Regions from separate parts of the Homo sapiens genome. Here region 2 is linked to region 1. The links are contacts of gene promoters, found by promoter capture Hi-C in blood cells and fetal thymus (Javierre and others, 2016). All regions are on one chromosome and are shown on one strand. Each heading gives the region's core, a stretch centred on a gene start or on the middle of the fragment in contact. The rest is flanking DNA. Distances are from core to core; before and after follow the strand shown.

Region 1 (5,364 bases), core at 852-3,351:
CTGCCCACCTGCCCCAGACCCAGCACCTACCATGGATGCTGCTGCTTTTGCTCAGGGCACCTGCCAGGGCCTCTGCACCTGCCCCACAGAGCCCATTGTCTCGAAGGTCCAGCCGCTTGACATATGGATTGGAGCTCAATGAGGAAGCCAGAGCCCGGGCGCCCTGGGACAGACAGAGCAAACACACTGGCCACTATCCTGGCTCATGCTCCAGGGCTCAGCCCACTCCACATCCTCCAGCTGGAAAGCCCTCCCCTTCCCACCTGTTTTAAGTGACACCTGCTTCTCCTTTTAGGCTCTGTGAAGGTCTCCCCCCACCCCCAGCTCTCCCTGACCCCCCAGCGGGTTAGGAGCCTGCAGGATCCACAACCCTTAACGCCACCTGTCACAGCCTCAATCCCATCTGTCTCCCAGATGTGGAGGGTAGGGCATGACTGACACAGGCAGAAGCTGGGGAGTGTAGGGGACAGACACAGGGGCACTCCCATGGCTGCTGTCTCCCGAGGCCTCTCCCCGTAAGCCTGGATACAGTGTCCCTCCAGTGGTACCTGGGGCCCCAGGCCACGGTGCCGGAGGTTCAGCTCTTGGGCGCTCCCTTGGCGCAGAAAGCAGGAGATGGGCACAACACTATGGGCCCGGCAAGACCTCAGGTACAGTGTGTCCCTGACCAGTTCTCCAAGCCCATCGGTGCCTGGCAGGAGACAGGGGGACGAATGTGGACCCTGCACAGCTACAGCCACCTGTGTCCTCCCCTGCCCTGTGTCACTACCTGGCCTATGTTTTGCCTCTAGAAGCACTGCTTCCTGTGCTTCTTGGGACCACTGCTCCCATATGACAGATGAGGACATCAAGCCTCAGGCAACGCAAATCTTTTCCTTAAAGTCATACGGCTATCAAAAGAAAGCTGGACAACCTGGGCAACATAGCTAGACAAATTTTCTTTTTTTTTTTTTCGAGACAGACTCTTGCTCTGTCACCCAGGCTGGAATGCAGTGGCACGATCTCGGCTCACTGAAACCTCTGCCTCCCAGGTTCAAGCAATTCTCCTGCCTCAGCCTCCCGAGTAGCTGGGATTACAGGCGCCCACCACCACACTGGGCTAGTTTTTTGTATTTTCAGTAGAGACGGGGTTTCACCATGTTGGCCAGGCTGGTCTCGAACTCCTGACCTCAGGTGATCTGCCTGCCTGGGCCTCCCAAAGTGCTGTGATTACAGGCGTGAGCCACCCCACCCAGCCAAAAAATTTTTATATTAGCCAGACGTGGTGGTCTCCTGTAGTCCCAGCTACTCAGGAGGCTGAGGCAGAAGGCTCACTAGAGTGCAGAGTTCAAGGCTGCAGTGAGCTATTATCCTGCCACTGCACTGACGCCCGGGTGACAGAGCAAGACCCTGGCTCTAATAAATAAATAATTTATTTATATATTTATTTATTAATAAATATGAGCCCAAGCAACCCAATGTTGTTTGTAGTAGAAGTCATGGCTGGCCTGCGCTGAGCATCCCACAGCTAGTGGTGGTAGCTAATCCTGCCAGAGTCAGGCCTCTGCCTGTCTGATGCCAAATTGCATGCTGTGTCTTTTAACCTGGATTGCAGGCCACAAATGTTTTGTAAACATTTTACGGGAGAAAAAACCGAGATAGTTCTAAATTCCATACATCCATTAGCTTAGTTTTTCCTGTGGATTGGGAAAACCCGGCTCTGATTTCATTTCAGGGTGGGACAGCCCTTGGTGCACTGTCTGGCGGGATTTTGCATTTTATCCTGATGCTTCCAGGAGCAATGAAGGGAAGGCAGGGGGCTGGAGGCGCCCCGCAGGCGGGTACGTTCCCTGCTGGCCTTAGCCCCAGCCCGCCTCCCCCAACCCCTGCGGGAGAAGACCCCCAAAGGGGAGGAGTCGGGCCTGCCCCCTCCCCCGAGCACCTTCCGTCTCCAGGTCGGAGTCCCAATTGGCCTCGGGACCCTGCTCGGCCTCGGGGACCCCTGAAAGACGCCCACAGGCCACCATAGCCTCTTCTTTCTGCTCTTCATCCTCCCCAGACCTCTCACAGGAACCCCTCATGGTTACGACCCTCTCGCAGTCTCAGACACTGAGTCGGAGACAGCTTGACCCCGCGCCCAGAGCGCGGCCCGGGATTGTGGGCGGAGTCTGCGGCTGCGCTGACCAACCGAATGTGCCGTCCAGCAACAGGCACCCCCCACAGCCAATAGCGACGCGCTCTCCCGCGGCGGTCGCCCCGGCAACCCGGTGTTGTCGGTTGCCGTAGAAACTGTGGCCGGCTTGTGCTGAGGCTCCTCGCCCGGGCTGATACACTGCATGCGCCACAGACCATGCACCGGATTGGGCGCCTTGCTGCGTTTATCCCCCTGCCTCCCCTAGGCGGTTCCAGCATCGCCCCCCTTTCATGGAATGGGAAACATGCCTGACTCCAGAGCTTGTGTTTTCTTCACTGCACTTGGGAATGGCTTTTCAGGAGGGCCTGGGGAACTTCGCAGAGCCAGGTCACCCTCTCACTCTGTGGCTCTCAGTTCTCTTGCATGCGCTGGCCTTTGCATACGCTGTTCGCTCCCCTGGGAACCTCCATCCCCATCTTTGTCTGCTTGTTGAACTTCAGAATCTGCAAGCGTCAGCTCAGAAGTCACTTATTCCTGAAGCTTTACTCAGAGCCCCCCCGGGGCTGTTGCTGCCCTCAGGCCGTCTTCTCACAGCACTGATAACAGCTGTCCTTCCCCATCCTCTCACCACGTCCACTCCCACCGGAGGAAGTGAGGCCAGAGGGCAGGGACAGAGCTGCTGTTTTCTGTGTGCCACCAGGGCCCAGCAAAGAGAATGTAGGGAGGGTGGGAGGTGCAGGGCAGCTGGGGTTAGGGGCTGAAGGCTGGGTGTTGGAGGCTGGATCCTGCTTTAGTGGAAGTGTCCCTTTAACAGCGGCTGGCGTGGCCTGGCTCGGGCCCTGCTTTGCCTCCTGTTCAGCTGCGGCTGCAGCTGCCATGCTGACTCATGTGCCCGCAGCTAGCAGGAGCTGGCAGCATGGGCTCCCCAGGGGCCACAGCAGACTAGGGGCTTCTGGATTATAAAACGGAGAAGTATGTGATGACCAGGAACTGGTGGGGGGGCGCCCTGCAGAGGCTGCTGCAGTTTGGGATCGTCGTCTATGTGGTAGGGTAAGAGAGAAGAGCTTTTGGCCAGGCTGGAGGGGCAAGGGAAGAGGTCGGGGGTGGGGCTTGGTCCTGCTGGGTTGAAGTTGAGGGTTGGGCTGTTTAGGGGCTGGAGGGGAAGGGGCCATAATGGGACGGGGTGGGAGGTAGGCAATACAAGACAGGAGAGCAAGAACAAGCTGTGTGTTTGTCCTGTGTGTCCACCTGCCTGCTTCCCAGTCCCTCCCCACGGCCCCACCCAGGGGGCACAAGACATTGTCCTTAACATCTGTGAGAGCTGGAGCACTAGGCCCCCAGAGAGACCACCAGCTATATCTCCGGTCAGGGGAGTCTATAAGCTCGGAGCTGGGTCTACTGAGGCTGGGGGTGGGTGCTGGCTAGTGAAGGTGATTGTCTGAGGGCACTGGCTCTCTGATGCATGGCTGGAGCTTCTGTCTCGTTCAGGGAGTCTACAGTGGGAAGTGGGGCCAGAGAGGATGCTGGACTGGGAGCCTGTAGGGTGTGGGGAGAGAACTGAGCATGTAGGGCCCAGCTCTGCCCCGTCACTACACGCTGGGGGGACACCACACTGCCCATCTTCTCCTTCCCAGGTGGGCGCTCCTCGCCAAAAAAGGCTACCAGGAGCGGGACCTGGAACCCCAGATTTCCATCACAACCAAACTCAAAGGGGTTTCCGTGACTCAGATCAAGGAGCTTGGAAACCGGCTGTGGGATGTGGCCGACTTCGTGAAGCCACCTCAGGTGGGGGCCCTGATGTTGCTGACGGGGGCGCAAGTCCTTTCCCCACTGACAGCTTGAACACCCGCCATGCAGCCAGTGTGTGCGAGAGAGAAGCATGTGATGCCAAAGGTGGCTGCAGGTTCTCAGGAAGGGCTTCACAGAGGAGTGGCACCTGAACAGGACTTTCAGGGATGTGTAGGAGGTTTCTGGTAGAAAAAGGGATGGGTTGAGAAACCAGGCCAGAGAAACTGCATTTCCGAAGGCTGCCAACAGAAAAGAAGGGAGTGTTTGAGACTAATGGCTTGAGCTTGAGAGTGGTGTGGGAGGGGTGTGGTGGGGCCAGGGCGTGGAACTTCCTGTAGCCCTGCTCCCTGACCTGGGGCACCTCGGTCAGGTGCTCCTCCTCCACCCTTCTCAGCTGCATTTTCCTCTTCCCTCCACCCAGCTTATCCACAGCCTTAACTTCCACCCACCTCTGCTCCTCTGATTCCCAGGGTGTATGTAGCCCCAGTGAACACCTGCCCAGAGCACAGCTGTCTTCCAGGTGCACACTCATATGTCCAAAGATCAATTATTTCCCTCTCCTGGCATGGCCTCTGTGACATCCACTAGTCATGATGGCTGTGACATCCACTAGTGCCTCAGCCAGACCCATGACTCAGCCTCAACCCCTTCCTGTCCCTTCCAACATTTTTCACTACTGCCCATGCCATGCCTGCATGAGACTATGGCCTCCTAGAAGGCCCTTAGATGCCCCTCTCGCCTCCTCCCTACTGCTTGGTGCACACCACACAGCAGCCAAGCTGAACTTTCACACCAGGCATCATGAGAGCCTGCAGCCCCTGTTTCTACCCTCAGGAGGCCCCCCGCCAATGATAGTGGCCACCCATCCCTCCTAATCCCAATGGCTGCCACTCTCAGCACCCTCTGCACAGCCCTCACCTTCCGTTCCTGGGCATGCATTCCCCAAATTCAGTGTTCTCATGGGCAGCACTGGAGGGTCAGCCTCCCCTTCCAACATCCTTGGCCACCCTTTGACCACAGGCAGAGCTTTCTGTCTTCTCACCTGTGCCCTGCCATGCCAGTGCTGCTGTGTGTGGGATGGGAGACTCACCTCCTCTCCATCCTGGCAGGTGCAGGGCCCAGCTCTCCCCTGGATCTTCAGTACTAGAAGCAGCAGGCTGTCGTAATATTCTGGTTGACGCCAGGCATGGTAGTTACAGCCTATAGTCCCAGCTACTTGGGAGGCTGAGGCAGGAAGATCTCTTGAGCCCAGGAGTTACAGGATGCAGTAAGGGTTGATGACACCACTGCACTCCAGCCTGGACGAGTAAAGTGAAACTCTGTGCGCCTGTAATCCCAGCTACTCAGGAGGCTGAGGCAGGAGAATCCTTTGAACCCAGGAGGCAGAGGTTGCAGTGAACCGAGTTCATGCCACTGCACTCCAGTCTGGGTGACAGTGAGACTCTGTCTCAAAAAAAAAAATA
Region 2 (5,364 bases), core at 1,853-4,352, 270 kb after region 1:
GAAAAATAATTAGCCTGGTGTGATGGCACACGCCTGTGGTCCCATCTACTTGAGAGGCTGAAGTAGGAGGATCACTTGAGTCTGCAGTGAGCCGTGATCACGCCACTACTGCACTCCAACCTGGGGGATAGAGTGAGTCCTTATCTCAAAAAACAGAAAACAAAAAAAAAACAAAAAAAAACTGCCTTTTGTTAAGCTTATTTTGTGTCTGTGACCATTTCCTATTAGATAGATATTTGAGGCCCAGAATATCTGCTGCCAGTTGAGGCCAGGTAAGAGTTACTGGCTGCTCTTGTTAAGCAAATATTTGAACTCAGTAGGCCTGAAGATGGGGTAACTGTTCGGATACTCTGCTTGAAATGCTGTCAGTGTGGTTAATGTTGATAATGGCCTCTGTTGGATGCCTGACACGCTGTATAAGGCACTTCGTGTAACTTAGTTTCATCCTCCCAACATTTTATATATCAGGAGACTGAGCCTTTCGTCACTGTCACTAATAAGTGGCAGTGGCTAGATTCGAACCAAGTTGGTTAAGCCTCTAAGCCCCACATCAAGCGCTCAGCCTTGTTCGCTCTGGAGTACCAGGATGCTTCCAGACTCCCTGGCCGTGCAGAGCAGCTTCCTAGCTGTTTTCCCAGTGCCAGTCCCATTCCTTGGGTCTTCCCCTTATAATACTGTTGAAATAGTAAGTTCAAAGTTTGTTTTAGTCACAACTAAGAAAGACTTTTGAATTGCACATTTTGGAGCAGGAAAGTCACATTGTTTCTGACTCAAAATGCCTGTTGCCTTTTCCAGGTCCCCATCTCAGCACCTGCCTCAGGCTGCAGTGCCACTAGTTTACACACGGGAAAACAGTTTCTAGAAACGATTTCTTTTTATTTTTATTTTGAGACGGCGGGGTCTCACTCTGTCACCCAGGCTGGAGTGCAGTGGCACAATATTGGTTCACTGCCACCTGTTCCTCTCAGGCTCAAGAGACCCTCCCACCTCAGCCTTTTGAAGTAGCTGGGACCACAGGTGTGTGCCACCAAACCCAGTTAATTTTTTGTGTTTTTGGTAAAGATGGGGTTTTACCATGTTGCCCAGACAGGTCTCAAACTCCTGAGCTCAGGCAATTCTCCTGCCTTGGCCTCCCAAAGTGCTGGAATTACAGGTATGAGTTACCATGCTCAGCCTCTAGAAATGATTTCTAATGTATGTAGCTGCAAATAGAACTGGGCCCAGTTTCTGAATGGCACTTTGAGTAACTTAGCTTCATCCTCCCAGCATTTTACATATCAGGAGACTGTGTATCAATAGCAACACACTTTTAAAAGTCAGGAACAAAGAAAGTAAGCAGCTGGTAGAAGGCTCCTTGCCCAACTACACTTCAAGTGTCCTCCTCTTATCACTTCTTGGCCTTTTGGCTAAGATCAAGAAGAAGAAGACCAGGCATAGGGGCTCACACCTGTAATCTTAGCATCTTGGGAGGCCAAGGCAGGAGGATCGCTTGAGCCCAGGAGTTCAAGACCAGCTGGAGCAACATAGCAAGACCTCATCTCTATTTTAAAAAAGAAAGCCAAAAGAAGAAGGAACAAAGGGGGAAAATGTTTTCTTCTCAGATAAAAATAAGGTTAAAGAACAAAACAAAAACCAACTTGAATAAATAAGCATTCAGGAAAACGTATCTGAGGCCAGATAGAGTGGCAGAGTAAAGACATGCATGTTTTATCCCGGTATTCAGAAGTTATATTTGGAAACTTCTTATACCCTGTTCCCACATTATCTGATAAAAAGCCAAAAATAGTTTTCGTCATTCCCTTACCAGAGGAAGGAGAAAATATCTCTGATATCTTTTATGGATTGAAATTAAAGATCTGAAGGTAAATCTTCCTGATGTTTTGCTATTTAGTATAACAAACATTGTAGAAGACGTTTAAAAACTATCACTAGGTTGTGATTAAATCCAGATTACTGTTTGAAGAGAAACAATATATTTTAAAGATAAATCATTCAAAAGTTTGTTTTGCTTTTTTTTTTTCCTGGGAACTTCATATTGTGCTTTCTTGCTAATTGCCAGAGCTGGGTTGGCCTTTTCAGTCACGCATCAGAGCATAACACTTGATAAACCGTCATCCCTCCTGGTGTATGGTCTCCAGGCCCAACAGAGCAGGCAGAATGGGAGAGAAGTAACTGCCTAAAGTTTGGAAAACTTTTTATTTTGAAGTAAGTTCAAACTTCCAAAAATGTTGAAAGAATAGTGTAGTAGAACAACTCCTGTATACCCGTACCGAGATTTACCAGGTTTAAAATTTTGGAACCTTTGCCCTGTCATTATCTGTGTGTGTGTGTACGTACGTGTGTGTTCTCACAGGCATGCACATACACATTTTTTCTTCTAGACCATTTGAGAGTAGGTCTCCTATATCTTGTTCCTCTAACATTTTTTCTTTTTTCTTCTTTTTTTTTTTTTTTTTGACGGAGTCTAACTCTGTTGTCCAGGCTGGAGTGCAGTGGCACGATCTCCGCTCACTGCAACCTCTGCCTCCCGGGTTTAAGCGATTCTCCTGCCTCAGCCTCCTGAGTAGCTGGGATTACAGGCGCGTGCCACCACGCCCAGCTAATTTTTGTATTTTTAGTAGAGACTTGGCTTCACCATGTTGGTCAGGCTGGTCTTGAACTCCTGACCTCGTGATCCACCCGCCTCGGCCTCCCAAAGTGTTGGGATTACAGGCGTGAGCCACTGCACCCGGCCCCTCTAACCTTTAATACTAATACTTCAGGGAAAATACCCAAGAGCAAGGATATTCTCATACATAATCACAGGACAGTTATCCAATTCGATTAATTTAATATAAGTACAATATTTTCATCTATTCCACAGCTCCTATTCTAAGTTTGTCAACTCTCCCAACAATGGAACTGACACAATTTTATAATAGGCACACTGAAAAATGAAACCATTTCCCACTTCTAAAACAGTGTAGAAAGCTTCTGAATTCTTAGTTTGCTAGAAAAATGAACCAGTTGCCTATCCGTAAACACCAAAAATAATTTATAATCAGCAGAAACATTAGAAACCCAACTTACCTCTGTGTTTCTGAGAAGTGGCGCTTCAGAGATGAAAGCAGCCAAGGTCATCAGTGGGATTTTGATGTGAACTTTGGTGCTGGGCTGTTGCTGCATATTTTCCAAAGTAAATAAGTCCCAATCCAAACACCAGGCAACCAGCTTGGTCAGCACAAACCCCCTCAGCTGTGCCTTTGATAACTGTAGAGTGGCTTGCAGCTCCTCATCTCCAGTTCTTAGAGCTGACACTTTGAGTATATGACGGTTACTGTGTTAGCATGCACACATAGCCTTGGTGCAGGAGCAGCCCCTCTTGAGGTCACCACATAAACAAGGCGCTCTTCAGGCCTCTGGGGACCAGGCTGCATTGAGGGTAGCTGAAAGTAGAGACCATGCATCTGCCTCCAACTGTGTCCTCTCTTCTGGGATGATCACAGCATCTGCCCTCCACCTGCTCTCCAGGACTGATGTGGCTGGCTCAGCTACTAGGCGGGTGTCCCTGTCCTTCCAAGAGCTCGTTCCTCAGTGAAAGGTGGAGGAGAGAGGACAAAATTAGTGGCTTACAGAATAAGGGGATTGTGGCATGGACCTTTCTTCAGTCAAGGGTTGCTGTGTTTGTTGCCAGTAGGTGCAGCCCAGCACTCCTGTCTGTTGTGGGACAGATAGGACTATTACTGAGCAGTGCCTCCCAAATTCAGGGCCACTTAGGCATTCGTGGGGATCTCTGAGGCTGTGATACATTTTGTGTTTATGGGTGTTTGTTTGTTTGTTTGTTTGTTTTGAGACAGAGTTTCGCGCTGCTGCCCATGCTGGAGTGCAGTGGTGCGATCTCAGCTCACTGCAACCTCTGTCTCCCAAGTTCAAGCGTTCTCCTGCCTCAGCCTCCTGAGTGGCTGAGATTACAGGCGCACACCACCATGTCCAACTAATTTTTTGTATTTTTAGTAGAGACGGGGTTTCACTATGTTGGCCAGGCTGGTGTTGAACTCCTGGAGTGAAGTGATCCTCCCGTCTCGGCCTCCCAAAGTGCTGGGATTACATGCGTGAGCCACCACGCCTGGCCCTATGTGTTTTTTGAGACAGGGTCTCACTCTGTTACCCAGGCTGGAGTGCAGTGGCGTGATCTTGGCTCACTGCAGCCTCAACCTCCCGAGCTGAAGCAATCCTCCTCACCTCAGCCCTGCAAGTAGCTGGGAATACAGGTGCACACCACCATGTCTAGCTAACTTTTGACTTTTTTGTAGAGACAGGGTCTCACTATGTTGCCTAGGCTGGTCTTGAACTCTTGGGCTCAAGTGATCCTCCTGCTTCAGCCTTGCAAAGTGCTGGGATTACAGGCATGAGTCACTGTGCCCGGCCTTATGATAATTTGTTTTTTAATTTGTGTTTTAAATTTTATGATCTAAAAAGTTTTAAGAATATTCTGGATTGTCTGGAAGATCAGCTTATCACAGAGACTGCTCCTCAAGAGCATGTTTGGGAGTGTCGGCACCCAGAGTCTATCTGAAGAGAGAATGTGACTCCTAGGAGAATCTGCGGGTGTGCAAGGGGCCCATGGGGGTGTCTGTGCATTGCTCCGTTTGAGAAATTCCAGAGTGTAAAGGTCCATTGTGTTCAGGACACAGACCGGTGGTTGTGTCTGAGTCTGATTTTGCACTCTAGCTTTTGTCAGAGCTGTCTTCTTAGAGCCTTCATCTGTCACATACAATACTGAGTCTTCAGCGTGGCACCACAGGCAGAGGCTGCTGTCTGTGCCCACACTCCTCGTGGGCCCACCTCCCTCATTCTCTGTCTTGTTCTCACACATGCAAAGCCCGGCCCCAGCACAGCCCTGGCACTTGCTATTCTTTCTGCCCAGGACACCATCCCTGCAGACCAGCAGGTGGCCGCTGCTCTCACTGTTCGCTCTTGGTTTCACCGAGGCGTCACCAGCCACCCTGGCTGAAATTGCCCCTTGGCCTCCAGCTCTCAGTATTCTGCTCTCTGAAATGAGGGTGACAGTTACACCTACTGCATGAGGTTGTTGTGAAAATTAAATGAGATACATTAATTTATCTCATTAATTAAATGAGAAAATTAAATGAGGTTAATGAATGTGTGGAAAGCACATAGAGTGGTGCCTGGCATTCAGAAAATGTTAGTCCTCATCATTTCATGGTATTACATATTTATTCACAGAAATGGTCTGGGAGGGGACACAGCATTCATTTTTCATTCTATGTACTTCTTTGTTTGACCTTTTTCTATGTGTATGTATTACTTTTGTTATTTTTAAAGCCAGTACCGGCCAGGTGTGGTGGCTCACACCTGTAATCC

The links. The method cuts DNA at HindIII sites, captures the fragments that hold promoters and counts their contacts. A CHiCAGO score of 5 or more calls a contact.
Region 2: the fragment with the promoter of SERPIND1 here is called in contact with the fragment with the promoter of LRRC74B in region 1 in 17 of 17 cell types (naive CD8 T cells, naive CD4 T cells, M0 macrophages and 14 more); the score reaches 14.9 in naive CD8 T cells.

What each region holds. Positions count from the first base shown.
Region 1 is chr22:21,042,683-21,048,046 of GRCh38, reverse strand. It overlaps LRRC74B (leucine rich repeat containing 74B), which reads right to left and starts at 2,101. Exons shown (of 10, transcript NM_001291006.2): 1 at 1,922-2,101; 2 at 549-691; 3 at 31-163. The coding sequence starts at 2,060. It also overlaps the pseudogene P2RX6P. The HindIII fragment of the contact is 8,622 bases long and covers 1-2,655 here.
Region 2 is chr22:20,771,851-20,777,214 of GRCh38, reverse strand. SERPIND1 (serpin family D member 1) reads right to left here and starts at 3,102. Exons shown (of 5, transcript NM_000185.4): 1 at 3,070-3,102. All of the region lies in intron 19 of PI4KA (phosphatidylinositol 4-kinase alpha), which reads left to right. The HindIII fragment of the contact is 9,953 bases long and covers 2,973-5,364 here.